Linked DNA regions of Homo sapiens: all the other regions are linked to region 3. The links are contacts of gene promoters, found by promoter capture Hi-C in blood cells and fetal thymus (Javierre and others, 2016). All regions are on one chromosome and are shown on one strand. Each heading gives the region's core, a stretch centred on a gene start or on the middle of the fragment in contact. The rest is flanking DNA. Distances are from core to core; before and after follow the strand shown.

Region 1 (2,700 bases), core at 29-2,528, 700 kb after region 3:
AGACCATCTTGGCTAACACGGTGAAACCCTGTCTCTACTAAAAATACAAAAAATTAGCTGGGCGTGGTGGCAGGCACCTGTAGTCCCAGCTACTCAGGAGGCTGAGGCAGGAGAATGGTGTGAACCTGGGAGGCGGAGCTTGCAGTGAGCCGAGATTGCACCACTGCACGCCAGCCTGGGCCACAGAGTGAAACACTGTCTCAAAAAATAAATAAAGAAAGAAAGAACTAGAGAAGCAAGAGCAAACAAAAACAAATGCAGTCTATACTATATAATGCTATATAAATCACAAGAGTCAAAAGCACATAACATAGGTTAGAAATAGAAACTGTCGGCTGGGTGCGGTGGCTCACGCCTATAATCTCAGCACTTTGGGAGGCTGAGGTGGGGGGATCACAAGGTCAAGAGATTGAGACCATCCTAGCCAACATGGTGAAGCCCCGTTTCTACTAAAAATACAAAAATTAGCCAGGCATGGTGGCACGTGCCTGTAGTCCCAGCTACTTAGGAGACCAGCCTGGACAACATAATGAGACCTTCACCTCTACAAAAAAAAAAAAGTTTTTAAAGTTAGCCAGCCAGGCCAGGCACGGTGGCTCACACCTGTAATCTCAGCACTTTGGGAGGCCGAGGCAGGCGGATCACCTGAGGTTGGGAGTTCAAGACCAGCCTGACCAACATGGAGAAACCCTGTCTCTGCTAAAAATACAAAATTAGCAGAGCATGGTGCATGCCTGTAATCCCAGCTATTTGGGGGCTGAGGCAGGAGAATCGCTTGAACCCAGGAGGTGGAGGTTGCGGTGAGCCGAGATTGCCCGATTGCACTCCAGCCTGGGCAATAAAAGCAAAACTGTCTCAAAAATAAATAAATAAATAAATAAATAAATAAATAAATAATTAGCCAGCCATGGTGGTGCATGCCTGCAGTCCCAGCTACTCAGGAGGCTGAGGTGGGAGGATCACTTGAGCCCAGGAGTCAAGGCTTCAGTTTGAGCCGTGATTGTACCATTACACTCTAGCCTCGGTGACAAAGTGAGAGTCTGTCACTATTTTTTAAATTTAATTTTAATTTGTATTTATTTATTTGTTTTAGAGAGAGAGGTCTCACTATGTTCCCCTGGCTGGTCTCAAACTAATGGGCTCAAGTGATCCTCCCACCTCAGCCTCCAGAGTAGCTGAGATTACAGGCATGCACCACCATGTACAGCTCCTATTCTACTTTCTGTCTCTATGAATTTGCCTATTTTAGATATTTCATATAAGTGGAATTATATATTTGTTCATTTGTGTCTCGCTTATTTCACTTAGTAGAGTTTTTAAGATTCATTTATGTTGTAGTATATATGAGGATTTCATTCTTTCTGTGGTTGAATAATATTCTATTGCATGCATATACCACATTTTTTTATCCATTCATCTATTGATGGACACTTGGGTTGTTTCCACTTTTTGGCTATTGTGAACAATGCTGCTGTGAACATTGGTATATAAGTATCTGTTTGAGTCCCTGCATTCAATATAATTTAATATTTAATAATGCTTCTGTTTAGCAAACAGCTGGCAAAATTGCAAAAACTTAATAATCAGCTCTGATGAGCCTGTTAGAGCCAGCTCTAGCACAATATCAGAGAATCTGTAATTTACCTGACTGGACCCAACAAGCCCAACTTGGAATTCAAGCTCACCACACCGGTATTTTCCAAATTTGCCCGATGATGATAATTGCCTAGGATATTTATGAAAATACTGATCCCCAAGCCAGGTGTGGTGGCTCATGCCTATAATCCCAGCACTTTGGGAGGCCAAGACAGAGAAGATTGCTTGAGCCCAGGAGTTTGAGACCAGCCTGGGCAACATGGTGAAATCCCATCTCTACAAAAAATACAAAAATTGGCCGGGTATGTGATGTGAACCTGTAGTCCCAGCTACTAGTGGGGAATGGGGGCGGTGGGGCGGGGGAGCAGGTGGCTGAGGCAGGAAGATCACCTGAGTCTGAGAGGTCAAGGCTTCAGTGAGCTATGATTGCACCACTGCACTCCAGCTTGGGTGACAGAGTGATACCCTGTTTCAAAAAAAAAAAAAAAAATAGTGATTTCCAGACCCTCTTGGGACATTCTGATTCTGAAGATCTAAGGCAAGGTGATTTTTCTGTCTGAAAAACTCTAATATTAGTCCCCAGTCTCACCAAATCTGGGCCTGAAGGGAGGGAGTGGGGTACAAATACGGTGCCCTGGAAGAAAGGTGGTGAGAGTGAGTCCTTTGGGGAGAAATTGCTGCAAAATTTGAGATGCATTTTTTTCCTCTCCAAAATCATTCCCAGCTCCAACATTCATTGACATTCATTCAGTTCTCTCCTGCTTATCTCCCTGAATTCTGTCTTAGCAAAGAAAACCTTCCAGAAAGAGCCAAGAGGAAATCATTAGGCCCCAGCAATTTTGACAAGATCACAGACGCTTGCATATCATTAGACTATTTAGAAACACGCTCTAAAGTTCCGAGGTTGCCATTCTGCAGTGTTATTTTGATACCCTGACAAGATATTTTTAGAGCACATGAAGCCCAAATTAAAACATTGCTACAGGAAAAAAAAAGTGAAATCCAACCAGGGGTCTATTAAATGGAAAACTACAGTAAATATCAGATAAGAGTGAAGAAAATAGTACAAAACATTTTTGAAAACTATTTTGGGAGAAGCAGGAG
Region 2 (2,700 bases), core at 201-2,700, 820 kb after region 3:
CTTATATTTATGTGTGCAGTTATATTGCTTTAAAAAGTTTTTCCAGCCTGGGCAATATATCAAGACCTCATCTATACTAAAAATTAAAAAAAAAAAAATTAGCTAGGCATGGGTGGCATACACCTGTAGTTCCAGCTACTCAGGAGGCTGAGATGGAAAGACTGCTTAAGCCCAGGGGTTCAAGGTTGCGGTGAGCTATGATCACAACTGCACTCCAGCCTGGGCAACAGAGCAAGATCCTGTCTCCACAAAAAAAGTTTCTTATATGTATATGCTAATAGTGTTTAAAAGGAAGAAAAGTCAGGTGCGGTGGCATATGCCTGTAGTCTCAGCTACTCAGTAGGCTGAGGCAGGAGGATAGCTTGAGCCCAGGAGTTCAAGACCAGCTTGGGCAAAACAGCGAGACCCCATCTCTATTTTTTTTAAATTTTAATAAAAAGAATAATTTCTTCTTACATCTCCATTAAAGATTAGAATAGAGTCCTGGGACTGACTTTCACTCCACTTCCATAGAAGCTAATAAAAAAATTAGTGTTATAATATCTTTCATTAAAATAATCTACTATCTTAAGATAGATATCTAAGTAAAAGAGCAAGGAACTCAGGAACTAAATATCAGGTTTGAGACCTTAATTAAATTACTTAACTTTCTCACCAATAAAGCAAGGTTATACTGTACTCTACTTCACAGTTTAATTCTGAAGATTAAACAAAATAACACATAAAAGCACAACATAGTTACAGGCACATGTTTAACACTTCCCTCATCTTAGCACAGTGCCATACTCCCAATAAGCATACAACTATTAAGAAGTAAAAGTGTACCAAAAAGGAGCAATATTAAAACTGTGTGAACTATGTGAAACAGAAATTCTAACAAAAGCACCATCTATTCATACTAATAATCTTCAAATGAAAAGCTTCAATTAGAAGTGAAAGTTACTAAAAGATATTCAAGTATTTTGAACGAATTCAACTAGTAAATACACTTGGATTACATTCCCAATGATTTCCTCTGAGAGATTACATATGAGGTACAAGATTACACATGATTTAATAAAATGGACAGAGAGCACACACAAAGCTGCAGTTTCCCAGGCTGAGAAAGACAAATCTAATTTGTCCTTCCTGGGGAGGAATGTATCTTAAATGAACAAAATTTCCTTAGAATACACAAAAGTAAATCAATGTATCAAAGGGATTAGGAAAAAAGGGAGCTTTTTCTCGAAATCCAAAATAATAATACGCATGACCTAAATGAATCTTCTCCAAATATTTAGGGGGGAAACCCCACTTTAATTGTTAGAATTGGTGCAAAGCAGCTGGATTTAGTAGAACGCAGCCCATCAACTGCTAATTCTGAAAAAAAAAAAAAAAAAAAAAAAAAAATCTAGGGGTGGAGAAAGCAGGCAATCTTCCCAATAAAACAACTGCCACAAAACACTGTACATACGTAAGAACATAAACATCTGTTAAAATATCAGTTTACACTGTTCCAGCCAACTTACAGATCAAGAGGAAGTATTTAAGGTCTAAAAAATAAATTACATTCTACTTTTAGTCACATTTTGCATGGGTGGCTACTGGACACTAGGAGTTATCGACGCGGATTCAAGACAAGGAAGACTGAATAATAAATCCAGTGTTCACATTCAAATGTGGGGGAGAGAAAAGGGCAGGCTCTGAGTCCATAAAGTTCTCCACACTCTGAAAACACTGCAAAAATAGTCCACATCTAAGGACACTTACCCTTGAAACTCCTTGGAGAGTGGCTTGGGAGACTTGCTGTTCAGATTTTTGAGGGGGAGTGATTTAAGAATGCTGCAAGATTGCAACTTTCAAACACAGGAACATAATCTAAAGTGTTTTTTTCTTTCAGTAAAGATCTCTCCCTGTCCTCTTCAAACAGTTGATCAGCACTCCCATTTTCACAAAATCCCTAATTCAAGTATAGAGCCCCTCCTCTCCCACAAAAAAATCAAAGCTTTAAAGAATATGCAAATAAAACACACAGATTATTTCCAATAATCCCTAACTCCTTCCCAATTGGGAAAAGAAAGGAGAAACGAAGGAACACGAAGCAAAAACACCAAAACACTCGGGGAAGGAAGGCGGCGAGATGAGAAAGTAGGAATGGGTGGGGGGAGGAGCACGGAAAAAAGTCCAGCTGATGCTGACACTTAATTGGAAGGAGAGGATGGAAAATATCCTGAAGATACGGGCTAGAAGGAAAGGACTAGGTGGGACAGGGGCGCGATAGAGTAAGTCCACGCAAAAGGCCTACCCAAGAGGGCCACTGTGTAGAAGGGAACACCAACAGGGAGCAAGACTCCCCAAGATTACTTCAAGGCCCCAAAGCTTAAGAGACAGGGCATAGGGAGATGGGGTGCTTCTCCACTGGCAATGCAGACACCGCACCAGACGTTTCGGGAGGCAAGTCTGCCGGAAGGGGTGAGGGGTTAACTGCGGGGGTTCGCAGACGTGGAAGGGGGTGCGGCCCCCGGGGTTGCTGGAGGAGAGCAGAGAGGAGGCCCACGGCGCATACCTTGTAGTAAACATCAAACTGGATGTTCTCGGGCAAGGAGCGGATGTCTCGGCGGGAGCGGATGTAGTTGTCCACGACAGCGGAGATGGCGGTGTTATAGAGAGTCTCTGGGATCCACTCTAGTTCCACGGCCGCCATCTTCCTTCCCTCCTCCT
Region 3 (2,700 bases), core at 49-2,548:
CTTACGACAAGCGTATCAATAAGCCTAGTGCCTAAGACTAAGGTAAAACAAATAACCATTCTTTGTCTCATAAATAATTCTGGGCAATGACAGCAGAACAAAATAAGTACATCCTATAAAATCTTCTTCTTGGTGCCTTCTAATTCCCCTGCCTCAGTAAACCCATTTCAGTAGTGCTCTTGATCCCATTACCTCCTTCTGCACCATGCTCCACCCGTTAATCTTTTTTTAAGAGACAGGGTCTCACTATGTGGCCCCCTATGTGGCCCAGGCTGTTCTCAAACTCCTGGGCTCAAGCAATCCTCCTGTCTCAGCCTCCCAAAGTGTTGGATTACAGGCTGAGCCACCGCGCCGGGTCTGCAGTTTACAACCGAAAAAAACAAACAAACCTTTCCCAAATCTTCTCTGACCCTTAAGCCACTGCCCCACTTTCCCTGTATAACATATTCCCAGAGTCTAGTATGGTGCCTGGGGTATGTCAGTAAGGATTAATACCTCTCTAGTTAATCTCTTTGTGTGAAAAAGGGGGGAAATTTTTTCTTTCTTTTTTTTTTTTTTCTGAGACGAAGTCTCACTCTGTCGCCCAGGCTGGAGAGCAATGGAGCGATATCGGCTCACTGCAACCTCCGCCTCCCGAGTTCAAGTCATTCTCCTGCCTCAGCCTCCCGAGTAGCTGGGATTACAGGCACGCGCCACCACGCCGGCTAATTTTTGTATTTTTAGTATAGATGGGTTTTCGCCATGTTGGCCAGGATGGTCTCGAACTTCTGACCTCAGGTGATCCGCCCACATCAGCCTCCCAAAGTGCTGGGATTACAGGCGTCAGCCACCGCGCCCGGCCCCAAATTTTCGACTATATTCTTAGAAACCAATTCTTTCCACGCAGAGCTCGACAGCTCGAAACGCTGGGGATATTCATAAGTGCCCAGCTGAGGGTATGAGGCCTGCTCGCTATTTTATCAATTTCGGAGAGAGCGCATCGATACTGCCTGCCTGGAGGCTTTGCTGGGAACTAGAAATTCTGAGTCTTCCCCTCCCCAGCAGCCTGTTCCTTTCCTCCAAAGGACGGTTCGCAGAACAGGAACAGAGGGCTCAGCGGCCCCTGGGCGGAAGACAGTTTATAAAGGAGAAAATGAAGAAGGTGGGTAATGCAACGAGGTGAAAAGAAACGTTCCTACTGGCGAGAAAATGAATAATGATATTGGTCTCCTTCGCCCTGTAAGGAGCCAACCAACCTACCTACAGTACCTCCTTTCCTCACTCGCGCCTTCCCTTCTTCTGGGCAGCGAACACGTTTCTATCGCGTGAGCTACCTCTTCCGGGGTTCCTGGGTGACAAGTTCCGGATCAAGAATCACAAAGCGAGCAGTCATTCTTCCTCTTGCCACACCCACAGGGCCCGCACTAAGAGCCTAACTGAAATCCCGCGAGGATCAACCGAGCTCGCCGAAAGGAGGGAGGAACGTATCCCTTCTGGAGGCTGTCTCAGGGGGCAGAGGGACCGGACCGGAAGTGACGTGAGCGGGTTCCGGTTGTCTGGAGCCCAGCGGCGGGTGTGAGAGTCCGTAAGGAGCAGCTTCCAGGATCCTGAGATCCGGAGCAGCCGGGGTCGGAGCGGGTAGGTAAACTAACTCAGGGAATTGGGGACCGAAGCCTGAGGCTGTCCTCAGAGCTTGGCGTCTTCCGGAGCTCTCCCACTTAGGCATTGCGGATCTGGGGCACTGTGATTCCGACTTCCAGCAGTGTTTTAGGACGCTGCTGACTGGATGTCTCACCCTGGATGTCTCACGCTGGCGGTAGCCAGGTTATTTGGGACACCTTCTCATGGTTGGTCACCCGGACATTGAACCCAGACACCGGGCTGTTCGTTCTCCTCTCCGCGTACTTGGAAGCCTTGCTAGGCTTCTTTAGAGAACCTCTTAGTCCCGGGATGTCCAGGACCTTGGAGTAAGTGGAGAAGGTCTTCCCTGCTGATGACTGAGCTATTTCTCAGGATCTGTCAGTTTGGTTTTTGCTCTCCCGAACCTCTGGCGCATGATGCTAGATGTATTCGCTCCTAAACGAAATCCAGGCGTGCAAGTGCCATCTAAAGCTCTGGTGGTACAGGGTAGCCAAGGGAATGGGCCTTCGCTCCGCAGAGCCCTTGGAGAGGAACTTCTCAGATTTTTCACTGCTTTAATGAAAAAGAGTTGTCTGCCTTTCCAAACCCCTGAACCCCGACCTCTATATCTTATTACAGTGGAGGTATTTGCAGTAAAACGTGAAGGTCGACTTAATCTCTAAAATTCCAGAAACCATATGTGGCCCTGTGTCACACTGCTAGATTACTTATGACCTCCAGAAGATTTTACACAATCATCTTTTATTTACCTGCAACTCCATGTAAAAATCTAATAATACACGTAGACTGGCCACTGTTGATGTGTTTTGGCAGCATCGCTCCTTATCCTAATGTTAACGTCTTTCATTTCTACTTTGGGGCTTGTCAGAGATTTTTGTGGACAGATTACATTGATCATTTGAAGAAGCTTGTACAAGTGTTTCTGGTGTTGTCATGATAGAATTTAATATTCCAGTTGCTACTACCTAGTAATTGTATTGTCATTAGCTCTGATTTTAGTTGTGTATTCTTAGCATAGATGATGAAAGGAAGAAACTTACTTACTAGGCATCATTGTATGCATTGTAGCTTATGTTTTTA

The links. The method cuts DNA at HindIII sites, captures the fragments that hold promoters and counts their contacts. A CHiCAGO score of 5 or more calls a contact.
Region 1: a fragment that was not itself captured here is called in contact with the fragment with the promoter of PTRH2 in region 3 in 1 of 17 cell types (neutrophils); the score reaches 5.6 in neutrophils.
Region 2: a contact is called between a fragment that was not itself captured here and the fragment with the promoter of PTRH2 in region 3, in 2 of 17 cell types (fetal thymus and total B cells). The highest score is 6.7, in fetal thymus.

Annotation. Positions count from the first base shown.
Region 1 is chr17:60,410,466-60,413,165 of GRCh38, forward strand. All of the region lies in intron 2 of LOC105371850 (a long non-coding RNA gene), which reads right to left. It also overlaps a transcript of USP32 not described here. Among named protein-coding and RNA genes, the nearest start is that of CHCT1, 11 kb to the right of the region's middle. The HindIII fragment of the contact is 3,591 bases long and covers 1-2,700 here.
Region 2 is chr17:60,523,249-60,525,948 of GRCh38, forward strand. It overlaps APPBP2 (amyloid beta precursor protein binding protein 2), which reads right to left. Exons shown (of 13, transcript NM_006380.5): 1 at 2,546-2,700. The coding sequence starts at 2,683. Among named protein-coding and RNA genes, the nearest start is that of APPBP2, 1.6 kb to the right of the region's middle. RefSeq lists enhancers at 1,905-2,613, 2,334-2,603 and a silencer at 2,684-2,700. The HindIII fragment of the contact is 1,064 bases long and covers 919-1,982 here.
Region 3 is chr17:59,706,132-59,708,831 of GRCh38, forward strand. It overlaps PTRH2 (peptidyl-tRNA hydrolase 2), which reads right to left and starts at 1,299. Exons shown (of 2, transcript NM_016077.5): 1 at 1,240-1,299. VMP1 (vacuole membrane protein 1) reads left to right here and starts at 1,523. Exons shown (of 12, transcript NM_030938.5): 1 at 1,523-1,617. RefSeq lists enhancers at 1,113-1,768, 1,569-1,628. The HindIII fragment of the contact is 5,892 bases long and covers 1-2,525 here.